2 separate regions of the Homo sapiens genome follow, and region 1 is linked to region 2. Evidence: promoter capture Hi-C in human tissues and cell types (Jung and others, 2019). All regions are on one chromosome and are shown on one strand. Each heading gives the region's core, a stretch centred on a gene start or on the middle of the fragment in contact. The rest is flanking DNA. Distances are from core to core; before and after follow the strand shown.

Region 1 (2,700 bases), core at 169-2,668, 1.0 Mb before region 2:
TTTTAAAATTAACCGAGTAAGGTGGCTTCTCCTGAGCTCCTGGACACGGGGCTCAGTGGAGGGGGCACCATACCCACTCTTGCTGAACCAACAGTGGGAGCCAAGCCAGCACCAACCACGACACCCTCACTTCTCTCCTCTCCTTCCTTCCCTGTCCACCCTCCCCATTCACCTGGCTTCACAAACCCCCCAGTTCTCCCCAAGGGAGGATGGAAGGCCTGTTCTGCACAACTAGGTCAAGTCGTTCATTACCTTATCACCACAATTTGGACACTTAGGGGTGAACCTGCATCCCTCCTCTGTGGCTGCACATGGTAAAAGCCAGATAAAACATGACTGACGATGGTTTATCTCCCAACACCAGCCTTAGGAAACAGTTTCATATACTCACTTTTTCCTTTTTTTTCAATCCTGTGGTGGAGGGCATGTAGCCTTCTAAAGTACCAGGTCAAACCTCCCAGGCCGTGGGTCAACACTGACCTTAGCGGTGGGTCTTCACAGCTGGAGTCTGCGCCCTGAAGCAAGTGACTCTCAATGGTGTGCAGTTGAGCCGTTTACTTTGTGGCTGCTGCAAAGCAAACAGATAAAGTGGCAGCTGTCGTCCTCATGTCCTGAGTAGGTCCCCCTCAGAGTTCTGAGACCCAGGCATGCTCATGAACCTTTTGAAGTTGGTCTCCTCCCAGTTGATTCAGACTCAGTCATGTCAGCCCTGAGCCAGCAAGCCTCCACAAGCACTGGGCACTCCAGTGTGTCACCAGAGAAGACCAGGGACTAGAAGAGCCCCAGGTGCTCAAAGCAGTCGCACAGGATTGCCCACGACTTTGGCTATTCCCACCCAGCACCAAGAGCCCCTTGCCCTCATCCTGTCAGATCTGTCAGATGACGAGTCACCACCCAGCTCTCAGAAAGTAGTCTTTAGAGGTACTTTTTTTTTTTTTTTTTTTTTTTTTAAGACAGAGTCTCGCTCTGTCGCCCAGGCTGGAGTGCAGTGGCTGGATCTCAGCTCACTACAACCTCCTCATCCCAGGTTCAAGAGATTCTCCTGCCTCAGCCTCCCGAGTAGCTGGGACAACAGGCACGTGCCACCACACCCAGCTAATTTTTTGTATTTTTAGTAGAGATGGGGTTTCACTGTGTTAGCCAGGATGGTCTCGATCTCCTGACTGCCTTGGCATCCCAAAGTGCTGGGATTACAGGCATGAGCCACCGTGCCCAGCCCTTGAGGTCCTACTCTTTTTCCAGGGAACCAAGACAAATAATAAACTGGCTTAAGAAAATAAATCATTCACTCAGGATTAAGAAACTCACTCAAAGCCGTTCAACTACATGGAAAAGAAAATAAATCATTCAAATCTGTAGAAGATTAAATCTGTTTATTAATTCATGTAAACATTTTCCAACTTGGGAGGAGACAAGGCAAAGACAGTAGGAGGCCTTCTAAGAAGGGAGGTCAGATGAGAGAGGCCTTCAGACTCACCCAGACCACCTCCACCATAACAATTTCTAGAAACATGTTCACCACATGTAAACAAAATGCAATTTTCCCCATAATTTTCAAATTAATATTCCATTTTAAAGGGAGTTAAAACTCTTATACTTTTCCAGAGTTCAAAATGATAGACCGTTTTAAACATGTTTTTGTCCAGACAAGTTTCTGCTTGCCTCAGTAGGATCTGCAAGCTTGCACGAGAGTACACTAATTTTCAATCCACTCCTTGCTCTGTGTGATAGAACGAACTGCGAGGAGAAACAGAAAAAGAGACAAAAGGTTAATTTTTAAAATCCCCTTGTATATCAAGTTGAAAAATCAATGATCACGAATAGAGAACTGCAATGAAAGTTTTGTTTACAGATACTAATATAAACTTCCATTAGAGCTGTAAGATGATGGGAAGAGTTCCAGTCTCGGAGTACAGTTAATTTACAGGCCCAGCTTCTGACTGATTTTGTAAAAATTTTGTCACTTTTCATGCTATTTCTCTCAGGTAGGAAAGTTGGGATTAAAAGTCTAATGTGGCCGGGTGCTGGTGCAGTGGCTCACGCCTGTAATCCCAGCACTTTGGGAGGCCAAGGCGGGTGGATCACCTGAGGTCAGGAGTTCGAGACCAGCCTGGCTAACATGGTGAAACTCCCATTTCTACTAAAAATACAAAAAATTAGCCGGGCATGGTGGCACACACCTGTTATCCCAGCTACTCAGAAGGCTGAGGCAGGAGAATCCCTTGAACCCGGGAGGCAGAGGTTGCAGTGAGCAGAGATTGTGCCATTGCACTCCAGCTTGGGCAACTAGAGCGAAACTCTGTCCCCCCCACCCCCCCCCACTAAAAAAAATGTCTAATGCAGGGCTGGGTGAGGTGGCTCATGCCTGTAATCCCAGCACTTTGGGAGGCCAAGGCAGGTAGATCACTTGAGGCCTGAAGTTCAAGACCAGCCTGGCCAATAAAGTGAAACCCTGTCTCTACTAAAAATATAAAAATTAGCCAGGTGTGGTGGTGCACACCTGTGGTCCCAGCTACTCGGTGGCTGAGGCGGGAGGATCACTTGAGCCTGGGAAGGTTGAGGCTGCAGTAAGCTGTGATCGCACCACGTGCTCCAGCCTGTGTGACAGAGCGAGCAGAGTGAGACTGTGTCTCAAAAAAAAAAAAAAGTATAACATATGAAAAAGGGCTTAATGTGTGTTCAAACTACCAACTGTGATAG
Region 2 (2,700 bases), core at 85-2,584:
GCATTGAGGATGGCTGAGGGCAAGAGAAGGAAACGGTTAGGCCGGTGAGGGGCCCCAGGACACAGTGGTGAGGGGCCCTCAACGCCCAGTGAGGAAGGCCCCCAACACCCAGTAAGAAGGGATCCCAGTGCCCAGTGAGGTGGAGGTCCCAGCACCCAGTGAGGAGGGTCCCTCAGCGCCCAGTGAGGAGGGGTCCCAGCACCCCCTGAGGAGGGTCCCTCAGCGCCCAGTGAGGAGGGGTCCCAGTACCCAGTGAGGAGGGTCCCTCAGCGCCCAGCGAGAAGCCCCCAGCACCCAGTGAGAAGGGGTCCAGTGCCCAGTGGGAAGGGGTCCCAGCACCCAGTGAGGAGGGGTCCCCAGCGCCCAGTGAGGAGGGCTCCCCAGCGCCTAGTGAGGAGGGTTCCCCAGCGCCCAGTGAGGAGGGGTCCCCAGCGCCCAGTGAGGAGGGCTCCCCAGCGCCCAGTGAGGAGGGGTCCCCAGCGCCCAGTGACGAGGGGGTCCCAGCGCTCAGTGAGGAGGGGGTCCCAGCGCCCAGTGAGGAGGGGTCCCAGCGCCCAGTGAGCAGGCGTCCCAGCGCCCAGTGAGGAGGGGGTCCCCTTGAGTACCTGGTGGTGAGGAACCTCTAGCCCTCCAGTGCCCAGGGAGACTCTCAAGTCTCTCAACCCCAGGGCCCCTACCGGCGGGGCATTTCCTGGGGCCTGGCCAGGCCCTGGCTGCACAGCTGTGACCCTGCCCTCCCGCAGCTTCCCGTCCAGCCTGCCTTCCGGGGACCAGGACCGGCTCCTCGAGGGAGGCACAGACCTGAGCCCCTCGGCTCTGGACGCTGCTGCCGCTGGTGTGCCCTCCCCTGACCTCCTGCGGCAGGAACAACACAAAACGGTGCTTCCCCAGAGGCAAGCAGCGGAGGACGAGGAGATGGGAGAACACGGAGGCGAGAGGGAGCAGGCGATGGCGACGCCGACGGTAACTGGAGACCGAGGCGCGCTGCGTACTTGCTGCGTTTTCTGTTTCATCCTCACAGCCGTAGAAGAAACCGAGGCACAGAGCAGTTAAGGAGCAAGAGATAAACAGAGCAGAAGCGGAAAGGAGATGAGAGAGGCAAGGCCAGGAGGGAGAGAGGGAGGGAGGGAAGGAGGGAAGGAGGGTGGAGGTGAGAGGGAGGAGGGAGGAGCAGCCTCCGGACGTACCTGTCGACGCCAGCAGCAGCAGGGAGGTGAAGGTGCCGAGACAGCCCCCACCCAGGGCTGGGGGCGCTCCAGAAACCACCATGGCTGGTGGGGCGGGGGAGCAGGCAGCAGGCTCGAGAGACCCAGGGCGATGCGGGTCAGGGTGTGTAGGTTCCCTGCAGGTCGCCCCAGGTTTTATCCTGGGAGGCGGAATGCCGTCAGACCAGTCCCCAGGTGGCTCCCGCGGCCACCCCGGCTGTGGGTCCTGGGCAGAGGGCGGGGCTGCGGGGAGGAAGCCAGCCGCTACAGGGCTCTGGGGGGGCTCTAGCTGAGACCCCAGGATGTGGCCTCTGGAAGGGCAGGGGAGGGGGCTTGGGCCCAGAGGTCCCTGACATTAATTGTCCAGGGGCAGAGAAAGGTGCCAGGGCACTGAAAGGAAGGGGTTCCGGGCTGGGGAGGGCCTGGGTTTGGAGAGGCTGAAGTCTGGGGTACTGGGTGTTGGGGGTGGTCCTAGGGCCTTAGGGATCAAGGGGGTGCCCAAAGCTCAGTAACGGCTCCCACCTGCAGGGCCCCAGGCCCCTGTGACTCAGCCCAGAGACCTGGCGCAACCCGGGCTTGGGAATCCCGTTAACCCACTTCCCGAAAGCTGTGAATCAGGTGAGTGGCGACCTTGGTGGCCTCCTGGTGGCCGCCCTCCTGTCGTTCCTGGAGGCGGGGCTCTGCCCTGCGGTTCAGACACCTGACAACTCACCTCACCTGGACTCCTGGGAAGGGGAGGAGCCCATGGGCACCAGGGCTCGGCCAAGCAGGGGGGTTGAGAGAAGAGGGGCCCCGGGAAGGGCTGGGACTCCCAGGATTCAAAGAGCTGCTGGGCTGGGCTGTGGGGGGCCGGGTCCTGGGCTGGGAGTGGATTCTCGGTGCTTCCCCCCAGCGGCTGCCACAGTGGCAACCCGGGGCTGAATCCTGTGAGACCTTCCCTGACTCAGTGCCCTGCAGCGCCCCACACTTGGGACACTCCCACCCAAGCAGGGCAGGCTTCCTCCTCTACAAAGAGGCAGGAGCCTGCGCCCCTTCACTCATTCGATCAACAAGCCTCCAGCAGGGCCCTTGCTACCGCCGGGGGTGAATTAAAAACAACCATAGTGTCTGGGTGGGGTGGCTTATTCCTGTAATCCCAGCACTTTGGGAGGCCAAGACGGACAGATCATGAGGTCAGGAGTTCAATACCAGTCTGGCCAACATAGTAAAACCCCGTCTCTACTAAAAATACAAAAAAAAAAAAATTAGCCAGGCATGGTGGCAGGCGCCCTTAGTCCCATCTACTTGGGAGGCTGAGGCAGGAGAATCGCTTGAACCTGGGAGGCGGAGGTTGCAGTGAGCTGAGATCACGCCACTGCACTCCAGCCTGGGCGACAGAGCGAGACTCTGTTTCAAAAAAAAAAAAAAAAAACCATAGTAGTGAATATGTATGTAATAAATATATTTATACAAATATAAATATAGTATTTATATAATAGAGCAAACATTTAGGAGT

What was found. The method cuts DNA at HindIII sites, captures the fragments that hold promoters and counts their contacts. A contact is called where the count stands out against the background at its distance.
Region 1: a contact is called between a fragment that was not itself captured here and the fragment with the promoter of PRSS22 in region 2, in 1 of the 25 tissues and cell types used here (spleen).

Annotation. Positions count from the first base shown.
Region 1 is chr16:1,832,630-1,835,329 of GRCh38, forward strand. MEIOB (meiosis specific with OB-fold) reads right to left here. Exons shown (of 14, transcript NM_001163560.3): 14 at 1,357-1,737. The coding sequence ends at 1,627. It also overlaps a transcript of FAHD1 not described here. Among named protein-coding and RNA genes, the nearest start is that of FAHD1, 6.8 kb to the left of the region's middle. RefSeq lists a silencer at 219-513. The HindIII fragment of the contact is 8,140 bases long and covers 1-2,700 here.
Region 2 is chr16:2,856,836-2,859,535 of GRCh38, forward strand. PRSS22 (serine protease 22) reads right to left here and starts at 1,335. Exons shown (of 6, transcript NM_022119.4): 1 at 1,188-1,335; 2 at 1-13. The coding sequence starts at 1,269. RefSeq lists enhancers at 720-1,320, 1,321-1,921, 1,922-2,521. The HindIII fragment of the contact is 21,792 bases long and covers 1-2,700 here.